Regions from separate parts of the Homo sapiens genome. Here all the other regions are linked to region 1. Evidence: promoter capture Hi-C in human tissues and cell types (Jung and others, 2019). All regions are on one chromosome and are shown on one strand. Each heading gives the region's core, a stretch centred on a gene start or on the middle of the fragment in contact. The rest is flanking DNA. Distances are from core to core; before and after follow the strand shown.

Evidence for each region. Contacts are between HindIII fragments. The study calls those that stand out against the background at their distance.
Region 2: the fragment with the promoter of IFI30 here is called in contact with a fragment that was not itself captured in region 1 in 1 of the 25 tissues and cell types used here (dorsolateral prefrontal cortex).
Region 3: a contact is called between the fragment with the promoter of PIK3R2 here and a fragment that was not itself captured in region 1, in 4 of the 25 tissues and cell types used here (dorsolateral prefrontal cortex, lymphoblastoid cells, pancreas and 1 more).
Region 4: the fragment with the promoter of B3GNT3 here is called in contact with a fragment that was not itself captured in region 1 in 1 of the 25 tissues and cell types used here (IMR-90 fibroblasts).

Annotation. Positions count from the first base shown.
Region 1 is chr19:17,953,702-17,956,377 of GRCh38, reverse strand. It overlaps a transcript of KCNN1 not described here. Among named protein-coding and RNA genes, the nearest start is that of KCNN1, 12 kb to the left of the region's middle. The HindIII fragment of the contact is 4,437 bases long and covers 1-2,676 here.
Region 2 is chr19:18,172,438-18,175,113 of GRCh38, reverse strand. IFI30 (IFI30 lysosomal thiol reductase) reads right to left here and starts at 1,301. Exons shown (of 7, transcript NM_006332.5): 1 at 1,141-1,301; 2 at 1-74. The coding sequence starts at 1,272. RefSeq lists enhancers at 74-739, 867-936 and a silencer at 1,247-1,556. The HindIII fragment of the contact is 16,563 bases long and covers 1-2,676 here.
Region 3 is chr19:18,151,832-18,154,507 of GRCh38, reverse strand. It overlaps PIK3R2 (phosphoinositide-3-kinase regulatory subunit 2), which reads right to left and starts at 1,345. Exons shown (of 16, transcript NM_005027.4): 1 at 1,214-1,345. RefSeq lists silencers at 475-694, 1,005-1,384 and enhancers at 1,495-1,774, 1,080-1,972, 2,515-2,594. The HindIII fragment of the contact is 11,749 bases long and covers 1-2,676 here.
Region 4 is chr19:17,793,787-17,796,462 of GRCh38, reverse strand. It overlaps B3GNT3 (UDP-GlcNAc:betaGal beta-1,3-N-acetylglucosaminyltransferase 3), which reads right to left and starts at 1,325. Exons shown (of 3, transcript NM_014256.4): 1 at 1,257-1,325. RefSeq lists enhancers at 732-1,429, 1,430-2,127. The HindIII fragment of the contact is 34,117 bases long and covers 1-2,676 here.

The DNA of each region.
Region 1 (2,676 bases), core at 71-2,570:
ATCCAGCCTAGGGCCTGGCAGACAGTAGCTAGCTTGCTCAGTGTTTGTTGATTGACTAAATGACCACCACCTCTGTTTTCTCCACACCCCCATGGGCAGCTTAGTGCTGACCCTGGATGTCAGTCAGTGTTCACCAAGGAGGCCTGGCTCAGTGGCTCACGCCTGCAATCCCAGCACTTTGGGAGGCCAAGACAGGTGGATCACCTGAGGTCAGGAGTTCGAGACCAGCCCGGCCAACATGGGGAAACCCCATCTCTACTGAAAACACAAAAATTAGCTGTGCGTGGTGACGCATGCCTGTAATCCCAGCTACTTGGGAGGCTGAAGCAGGAGAATCGCTTGAACCCGGTGGGGTGGAGGGTGGAGGTTGCAGTGAGCCAAGATCATGCCACTGCGCTCCAGCCTGGGCGACAGAGTCAGACTCTGTCTCAAAACAAACAAACAAAACAAAACAAAACAAAACTAAAAAAAAAAAGTTCACTGGAGAAAGGAGCACAGGAGCTGCCTTCCACAGAGCTGGCCTACCCTGGGGGCTGTCTCCAGCGAGACCACGAGAGCCGGGAAGTAGAGGCTGTGTGTGGGGGGCGGGGGCGGGAGTGGTGGGACAGAGCTCTTCCAACCTGGCTCAACACCCCACTTCTAGGTCATCTGGCCTCTCTGAATAGTTTCCCCAACTCCAGTGATCAAAGAAAGTGGACAGTAACTCCCCGGAGGCTCTAGAAAGCATAGTCCTTGCTATCATCATCATGATATATATGATATAATAATAATTATATTATTATTTTTTTTCTTTCTTTCTTTTTTTTTTTTTTTTTGGAGATGGAGTTTCACTCTTGTTGCCCAGGCTGGAGTGCAATGGCACAATCTCGGCTCACTGCAACTTCCGCCTCCTGGGTTCAAGTGATTCTCCTGCCTTAGCCTCCCAAGTAGCTGGGATTACAGGCATGCAGCACCATGCCTGGCTAATTTTGTATTTTTAGTAGAGATGGGGGTTTCACCCTGTTGGCCAGGCTGGTCTCGAACTCCTGACCTCAGGTGATCTGCCTGCCTTGGCCTCCCAAAGTGCTGGGATTACAAGCGTAAGCCACCACGTCTGGCCTTTTTTCTTTTTTTTTTTTTTAATTAAAGAGATGGGGGTCTCGCTCTGTCGCCTAGGCTGGAGTGCAGTGGCCATTCACAAGCGTGATCATAGCTCACTGCAGCCTCGAACTCCTGGACTCGATACTCCCACCTTAGCCTTCCGAGTAGCTAGGACCACAGGTGCACGCCACTGTACCCAGCTTGTTATTATTTCAAAAGCTGGCACTTTTTCCTCAGGTCACCTTTTTTTTTTTTTTTTTGAAACAGAGCTTTGCTCTGTCGCCCAGGCTGGAGTGCAGTGGCGCGATCTTGGCTCACTGCAACCTCTGCCTCCCGGATTCAAGTGGTCCTCCTGCCTCAGCCTCCCAAGTAGCTAGGATTGCAGGTGCCCACCACCATCCCCGGGCAATTTTTGTATTTTTAGTAGACACGGGGTTTCGCCATGTCGGCCAAACTGGCCTCAAACTCCTGACCTCAAGTGATCCACCTGCCTCAGCCTCCCAAAGTGCTGGGATTACAGGCGTGAGCCACCTAGCCTGCCCAGTTACCAATTTTTCTATCCAACCCCTGAGCCACCCCCACCCCCAAAGGCGACCCAAGTCTGGGATTCACTCACCCTAGGGTGCAGGGGTCTCCTCGCCGAGCCACTGCAAAGGGGCTGTCCCCTTCAGTCCTGCTGGTGACCACTTGACTGGGAGAGAGGGTGGCTGCTGCTGCCTTTCCTGTCCCTTTGAGATCTGTAATGATCAGACAGGGGGTGCGGGGTGGAGGCGGGGACCCAAAAGAGTAGGGTGCAGACAGCTCCCGGACTACAGTGGTCTTTCTTATTTTTTATTTTTTTGAGACAGAGTCTTGCTCTGTCACCCAGGCTGGAGTGTAGTGATGTGATCTCAGCTCACTGCAACTGCCGCCTCCAGGGTTCAAACAATTCTCCTGCCTCAGCCTCCCAAGCATCTGGGATTACAGGTGCCTGCCACCATGCCCGGCTACTTTTTGTATTTTTAGTAGAGATGGGGTTTTGCTGTGTTGGCCAGGCTGGACTTGAACTCCTGGCCAGAGGTGATTCACCTGCTTCAGCCTATTACGTACAATGGTCTTTACAGCAGATCTGCGCTCTGGCTTGGTGTTGCTGAGCTGGGTCATCTCCTAAGCTTTCAGGAAGCTTAAGAACAGTGGCTTTATCACTCCAATGGGGCCCTGGGCTAGCCCCACCTCTTCCATGTCCCCTCCCTAAGGCCACTCCTCCTTTCACTGGGCTCCAGAAGCTAGACACTGAATGCTTTATCTGTCTTTCCCAATGCTGTTCCTGCTCACCCCCTCACATTGCCCCTAGTTCCTTCGCCATGGGGAGATCTAGGTGGGTGACATTCAGGGAGGTGACATTTTGTCACCCAGGCTGGAGTGCAGTCGCATGAACATGGCTCACTGCAGCCTTGACTTCCCGGGCTCAAGCGATCCTCCCACCTTCGGCCCCCAAGTAGCTTGGACTACAAGTGTGCACCACTACACCTGGCTAATTTTTTTAATTTTTTGTAGAGACAGGGTTTCAGTACGTTGCCCAGGCTGGTCTCGAACTCCTGAGCTTGCCTCGCCCTT
Region 2 (2,676 bases), core at 52-2,551, 220 kb before region 1:
TCATAGTAGAGGGTCACATTGACAAGCGGTGCATTGGACTTCTTCAGGGGCCCCCGCAGGTATAGATTGCCTGTCTGTGGATTAGGAAGGCGTGGGAGGCAGGTGTAGCCCTGGGCAGTTCCCCACTTCTCTCAACCCCACTTGGTAGTCTTGTAGAAAGGGGGCTGTGATACGCAATTCATCTTGCACGCCTTCCAGAACTTGCCAGGTGGAATCTTGACTTTGAGACTTTTTTTTTTTTTTTTGAGATGGAGTCTCACTGTCGCTAGGCTGGTGTGCTGCGGCACGATCTCGGCTCACTGCAACACCCGACTCCCTGGTTCAAGCAATTGTCCTGCCTCAGCCTCCTGAGTAGCTGGGATTATAGGCACATGCCACCACACCCAGCTAATTTTTGTATTTTTAGTAGAGACAGGGTTTCTCCATGTAGGCCAGAATGGTCTCGAACTCCTGACCTCGTGATCTGCCTGCCTCAGACTTCCAAAGTGTTGGGATTACAGGCATGAGCCACCGCCTCCGGCCTTGGCCCATGCTCATTTCTTGTCACTTCACCTGGAGACCTTGCCTCTGAGCTGAGCAAGGGATCCACGTGAACCCTTTCCAAGTCCGACTGAATAGAGGCGGCACCTAATAGGTGCTGACTTCCGGCTTCAGCTGAGGGGTGGCGGGTGGCCCATGTCGCTGGAGCGGTGAGCAAGTCGCTCAGCCTCTAGGGCATCTGCCTAATAGGTCCCAAAGACACGCGAGCCCTGCCCTGGCTGGAATGAATGCATCAAGGGTAGCAGCAAGAATGCATGCCGGCGGCCCTTGGCCAGCTGCTGAACTTGTGCCCTGGGCCACAAAAGGAGACCCCAGCTCCTGCCCCAAAAGTACACAGTAGGCGCTCATTGAACCCTTGGGCGGGACTAGGCGGGTGGAGGCAGCTGCGCCTCTCAGATGCGGGATGCGAAAGCGAAACGGCACGGAGGGAGTGTGGCCGCAGCGCCGGGAACTGAACAGGGTTTTTCCAGGAACCCGGCAGGGACAGCGTCCCCTCGGGGCCCTGGTCTTCCCCTGTGAAGTCTGGGGAGAAAGAAGGAGCCGCGTGCCCCGACAGGGCGCCTGTTCCCTCCAGCCTGCCCGCCCTGTCGCCGTCCCTACCTTGTAGTTAACTGGTGGCCCATTCCCAAAGAAGTCTAACGCTTGCAGAGGGGACGCCTGCACCGCCGCCGTGGGGACGTCCAGCAGCAGCAGCAGCGGTGGCAGGAACAGCAGAAGTGGCGACAGGGTCATCGCAGCAGGGGCAAAGGTGTGGCGACTGCAGCGGCTGCCTGGGAAATAAGCGCCTTTAACCAGGCGGCGGTCCCGCCCCTAACCCGGGCCCGCCTCCCGATGCCCACGCCCCTCGGGTCCCGGGCCAGCGTCTCTCCCTCCTCCACTCCTTCCTCTGAGTGTCCCACCCCCACCCCTGCCAGGTGCTGGGTCCCCAGTCACGAGGCCATTGGGCCCCTTGGCAATCAGCCCTGCCCAGGCACGTGAGCCCTGGCGCAAGACTACCTTTAGGGGAGGTGAGGTGGGGCCTTTGAGACAGACACAGGCTGAGAGGAATGGTGGTGTCTCCACGCACCCCTAGACCTTCTAGGGGCGGCTAGGGGACTTGAGGCCCGAGACCCACTCTCAGAGTGGGCCTGTGACCTAACAGGGGTGACGTCGGATGGAGGCTGGGGATGGGATGGAGGCCGGGGTTTTGGGGGAGTAACTGAAATATTCAGGCCCCCGAGAGTGGGCAAGGCCTGTGTGGCCAGGTCTCCTCCCTCCAGTCTCGCCCGTGACCTCCCTCACACCCAACCCCCACATCCTGCCCCTCAACCCTTCCCCCCTCAAACTCCTGACCCCGACGCTCCAGACCCCTCACCGTGGTCCCGTGGGACTGACTCAGGCTTGACCACAGCCACGCCGGAAAGCAGAAGCTGGCGCAGGGAGTGGCGTGTCATTTCTCTAGGGTACCCACCCAGCCCCACTTCTGGCTTGGGGTGAAGAGAACTGGCCTTCCTTCTTTTCATCGTTCAAGGCTTGTGGGGGGTGGGGGGCAACCTGGCCTTCAAGGGACGCCCATGGGGGAGAGAGGCAGCCTGTGCTGTCTGGGATAGGGGTGGGGTGGCTTGGAGTCCACCTGGCTTTGGATTTGAGTGACAGAGCCTCAGCTTTCCCTTCTGTGTAATGGGGAGAAGGATAAGGTTTGGGGAACAAGAGTCACCATGGAGGGCTCAGAGGCAGGTGGGGGAGAGTTGTCCCAGGCTGGGGCTTCTGGATGGCATGGTCAGGCCTTGGTGCCTACACAGGACAGTGGCCCCAACAGTGAAGGCAGAGAGAATAGCCTGGAAAAAAGGCCCAGATGGAGGCTGGAGTGTTGGGGGAATAACTGAGACATTCCAACCCTGCCAGGCCTTACATTCAGGGCAAGACACATCGGATCCTAGGGAAGAAAATGTCCCACACCCAGCTGGAAGATATACCTGAGTCCCCAGCTGTGCCCCCCTCTAGTTGTGGGGAAGACCCTGGCCACACACACAGTAGCTGGTTTGGGAGCCGGAGCTTCTCTGAAGTCCCAGTGGCTGGATGGTCCCCGAGCCCATCCCTCAGACGACCAAACCGTTGGCAAAGGCTCCCCAAGACTCACCACCCCAACTTTGGTGC
Region 3 (2,676 bases), core at 96-2,595, 200 kb before region 1:
AAGGCCTCGAGGTGAGTCCAAGCAAATGGACCTCCAGTCTCTGCAGAGGAGGAGTGAGTGGGCTGGCAGGTAGCTCCAGCCTGGGGCCCAGAGTAGGCACAAAATGCAGATGGGGAGGTGCTTAGAAGGAACCTTAGCCCCAGGCAGGGACAGGGAGCCAGGAGAAGGTGGGGGTACTGCAGCTGAGGAGGAGGGGAGGCTGCCGGCAGCAGGGCATTGATTATTCCCCAGGAGTCCCAGCCTGGGGAGGCGGAGATAGGCACACATTCCCAGCCTAGCCCTGCGGGTTCAGACGCCCTGTGATGGACAGGGCTAGGGTCGGGGGATGGACGTGCTGTTCTAGAGAATGGATCATCACAGCGGATAGGAAGGCGCGACAGGCAGACGGAACGGCACATGCAAAGCCTTGGCAGTGGGTTAAGTTGCTTGTCAAGGATTCAGGGTGGCTATAAGGATAGGTGCTATCCACCAAGAGGCCCGAGTGTCAGGTGGAGGCTCTGAGCATCCTTCAGTCACGGGGAACCCCAAGAGGTGTCCGAGCAGGGCGGAGGGGCGCCACATTCTCGGGTGCCCAATTTACCCATTCCTAGGCCTCTGTTACCCTCATTCTACAGGTGGGGAAACTGAGGCCCCGAGAGGGGATGCCCAGAAAACCGCCTGGATCTGCCTGCCAGCCCGCCCCCACGCCCCGGTGTGCGCGCCCCGGGAGCAGCGCTCCCCGAATCCGGGAGGCGGGAGGGGCGGGGCAGGCAGGGCTGGGGGCTCCGCGGGTGAAGGCAGGGCCTGAGCGCTCACACAGACGCGCACTTGGGTCTGCGTGGACCCGGCCACCCGGCTAGGGGACCGGAAGTGGGTTCGACCCCCGGCCCTCCCGCACCCCATTCTGCCCCGCACAATGCCTGGGCGCCCCTCGGTACTATTCGAAGCCCCATTCCAGGCAGGGCCTCCCTTCATTTGGGGCCTCGGCTCCAGTCCGGTATCTTGGACGCGGGGAGTCTCTCCCCATTCTGCCCCGACCGTCCCAAGGAGGCTGCACCGCTGCGGAGCCGAGCCCGAGGCCCCCCCTTGCCTGCGGCCCCCCCAGTTCCCGCGGGGCCCGACGCAGCCTGGCGCTTGCGTTCTGGCTTCCACCGGGGCCCGGCACTGCCCCCGGGCGCCCCGCATTTAAGCACACTCCCAGCCGCCCCCGCCACGAGGGCCAGTCAGGACTCACCTGGTCGCGGCCGCCACCGCCGCCGCAGCCGCCGTCACACCAAGCCAAGCCCGCCCCGTGGCTCCACCGCGGCCACCGTCGCCGCAGCCGCGGGATCCCCGCCTCCGCCGCCGCCACGGTTCCGAGCGGCCTGGCCCGCCCCCGGCGGAAATGCCCGAGCGCATTCGAGCCGGGCGGATGAACCGAGGCCGAGGCGGAGCCTGAGGTAAGGGGGCACCCGAGTGTTTCCGGAAGTAGCCGAACGTAATCCCGCGGGACTGGTGGACTAGAGGGTGCCCCCGAGACAGCCGAGCGTTTCCAGAGGTAGCCGAGTGCAATCGGGTCGGCGAGGGATCCGAGACTGGGCTCGGCTGGGCTTAGAGACGCCCGAGCGCTTTCGGAAATGGCCGAACACTCTCTACGGCCGCACTGGCACAACTGAGGCTGATCCCCAAGACCGCGGAGCGTTTCTGGAAATAACCGAATGTGCTCAGTGCCCAATGGAGGCCTTGGGAGTTTAGACCCAGAGGCGACCGCCAGCTTATGGGAATTACTGAAGCATAGATGGTTCCAGGGGACAAATGAGGCGTTCTCAAGCTCAGCAAACAGGGGGCAGTAGAGTGGGGAAAGGGCCTGCCGCAAAAAGCAGAAGTCGGAGAAAGCCAGGGTTGAAGGAGTTTCCATGGCAACCCAGAGCGTCCGGAAACAGCCAACGATCTCGACCCCTACGGGCACTAGAATTTAGCGGACTTGAGCCTAGATGCCGACGGTTTCCGGAAATAGCCGAACGCACTCGGAGATGGGGCTGTAGCCAAGAGTGTTTGCATGCCGGCTGAGCGCCCCGGAAGTAACGGATTGCTCTAGGGCTGGGCCGGGTTCGGCTAGAGGGAGTTTTATGGCAGAGCGCAAGCTAAGACCAGGATAGAAAGGACGCGACGATTGCTTATTTTGTTATTATTTTTTGAGACGGAGTTTCGCTCTTGTTGCCCAGGCTGGAGTGCAATGGCGCTATCTCGGCTCGCCGCAACCTCCACCTCCCGAGTTCAAGCGATTCTCCTGCCTCAGCCTCCCGAGCAGCTGGGATTACAGGCATGCGCCACCACGCCCGGCTAATTTTGTATTTTTAGTAGAGACGGGGTTTCTCCATGTTGGTCAGGGTGGTTTGGAACTCCCGACCTCAGGAGATCCGCCCGCCTTGGCCTTCCAAAGTGCTGGGATTACAGGCGTGAGCCACCGCGCCCCGCCGCTTATTTATTTTATTAACATAGCCCAGGGCGCCCAGGAGGTCGAGGCTGCAATGTGCCGTGATTGCGCCACTGTACTCCAACCTGGGTTACAGAGCGAGACCTTGTCTCAAAAACATAAAAATAAAAAACATAGCTCAGGGCCCAGATGTCTGGAGGAAGCTTTTAAAGGCAGGGCTATGATGGAGTACTCGCAGGGAGAGGGTAGCAGGAGGCTGGTACCAGCGATGGCATCAGGAA
Region 4 (2,676 bases), core at 76-2,575, 160 kb after region 1:
AGGAGTCCCCCGCCCAAGTTGAGGGGCGACCTCAGTTTCCTCTTGAGAAGTGTCCATTTAAAAAAATCAGAGCTGGGCATAGTGGCTCATGCCTGAAATCCCAGCACTTTCAGATGCCAAGGCAGGAGGATTGCTTGGGCCCAGGAGTTTGAGACCAGCCTGGACAACATAGTGAGACCCCGTCTCCACACACAAAAAAATTTTAAAATTAGCTGCCTGTGGTGTGCACCTGTAGTCCCAGCTACTCGGGAGGCTGAGGTGGGAGGATCACTTGAGCCCAGGAGGTTGAGGCTGCAGTGAATACAGTGCATGGAGCCACTGTACTCCAGCCTGGGTGACAAAGTGAGTCCCCCACCTCTACAAATAAAACAAACAAACAAAAAGTTTAAATCTGACCCAGAGGAAAAGATGGTCGGGATTCTTGGAACAGGAGTGAATCTGAACAGTGGCTACAGACATAATTAATATAATTATGATGACAGCTGACTGTCCCTGGGCACCCACTGAGTGGCCACAGCTCCTATCCACTCAACTCATCCTCGCCAAGGTCCCATGCCATGAGACCCCCCCTTAACACACAGGGAAACTGAGGCTCAGAGACCTAACGCCAGTCACGCAAGGGCCCCCAGTGGCCAGCAGTACACCTCATCACAAAAATTTCCTTTGACTAAACGCTTCGGGCATCCTCATCCCAGCTGGTTCATTGTTCCACCTCACGGAGGGGAAACTGAGGCCGGTTCAGCAATGTGTCCATGCCACGCAGCCAGGGCCCCTGGAATGCCGCCCAGCCACCTGGCAGGGCCTGCAGCACCGGAACCGCAGGGAGAGACTGGGGGTCACCTGCAGTTCCCAAACCCAACCGGGGACCCCAGCGCTGGCTTGCCCAGATACTCCCAACCAAGGGGCCAATAATCTCAACAACACAGGTAACAGTAACAGCCAAGTCTGACTAAGCGGCATCCGCCTCGGGGGTCTGATCCCGCCCAATCTGGGAGGGGCGCCGGGGTCCCGGGTCGCCAGCTGTGGGGGAGGCTTCCTCCCCGACCCAGGTCCGAGCTGGCCTTGGGAACGCCGGAGACAATTACGGATGGGTGAGGGCAACCGGGTTCTCGAGACTCGGGGCTCCCGAATGTTCCCACATCTGCAGGGTATGCGCGGTGGAGACCGGCAGGGGCTTCTCCAGAGCCACAACTTCCCCACCCCCAAACCCCCACCACTGGGGTCCGCCAGATCCTCCGGGGGCTGCCGACACTCACCCCCAGACGACAGTCCCGCCTCTGCCCCTCTACCTGCTCCTCTCAGCTCGCGAGCCGAAGAAAGAGTTTTTACCTGAGCCAGAGCTCCCGCCCCTCTCCCGCTTCCTCCCTCCCACCGGGCCTCACGCCTTCCTGCCTCCCTCCGCCTTGGCCGCTTGCCAGTCCCCCTCTTCCCAGCTCGGCTGAGTTTCCTGGTGGCCCAGGCGAAGTTCTCTGCCGGCTCCTCCCTCCCCGGCCATGCCTCTTCCCCTCTCCGGTCCCGGCTGCCACCTCTGCCATCCCGCTCTTGCCACCCTCGCCCCTCTCGGGGCTCACGACCCCACCTTGGGTCTGGCCCGCTGCTAGGGAATGAGCTCCCCGTGGCTGGAGATGAACAAGCAGCGCCTTGCGGGTTCCTGGCACAGAGCCCGGTCAGCGTTGGCCCACGTGTGTTCCGTGAAGAAATGATTGGATAAGCCCATGGCGATAAGGAGGGAGGGAGGCAGGTTAAACCTTGCGGCACCTCTGCTCTCTGCGGGGAGTTCAAAGATTCCTGAAGCTGGGGTCGGCGCAGTGGCTCACTCCTGTACTTCCAGAGGCCGAGGGGGGCGGATCGCTGGAACCCAGGAGTTTGAGACCAGCCTGGGCAACATAGTGAGATTCCATCTCTATATTGAAAATAATTCCAGGACCCGAAAACCTACGATGTGCCCCCAGACATCCAGATGCCACCTGCTGGCATTTGGAAGGGTTCTGGAAGTCAACAATCAGACAGATTTGTAGTCTTTTCTTTTTCTTTTTTTCTTGTTTTGAGAGACAGGATCTCGCTTTGTCACCCAGGCTAGAGTACAGTGGTGTGATCTCCGCTCGCTACAATGTCGACCTCCCCAGTTCAAGCAATCCTCCCACCTCAGCCTCCCGAGTAGCTGGGACTACAGGCACCCGCCAGCATGCCTGGCTAATTTTTGTCATTTTTCTAGATATGGGGTTTTGATATGTTGCCCAGGCTGGTCTTAACTGTGGGCCTCAAGTGACCTTCCTGCCTCAGATCCCCAAGGTGCTGGATTATAGATGTGAGCCACTGCACCTGGCCTCAGATTTGTAGATTTTTAGGGTTGGGTTGGCTAGGATTCGAACCCTGCCCTGTGCTGCCTCTGAATCTCTAGGAGATTCTAGCCTGGACCCAGCGTTGGGAGCTCTGGGGTTGGGGAAGTCCAGGTGTGTGAGCTGGGCTATGGTTTCAGGAAACCCCTCCTTCCTCCTTCATCCCTGTTTCTTCCCGAGGAGGAAGCCGAGGTGTATATGTGGCCTGTCTGTGCCTCAGTTTCCTCACCTGTAAAATGTAAGAAATAGCCCCTGGGTACTCTGGATGGGAGAGGTCTGGGGAGTGAACCCTCAGAGCAAATGCATGATTAAAACTGTATGGAGGGCAATTACCGGA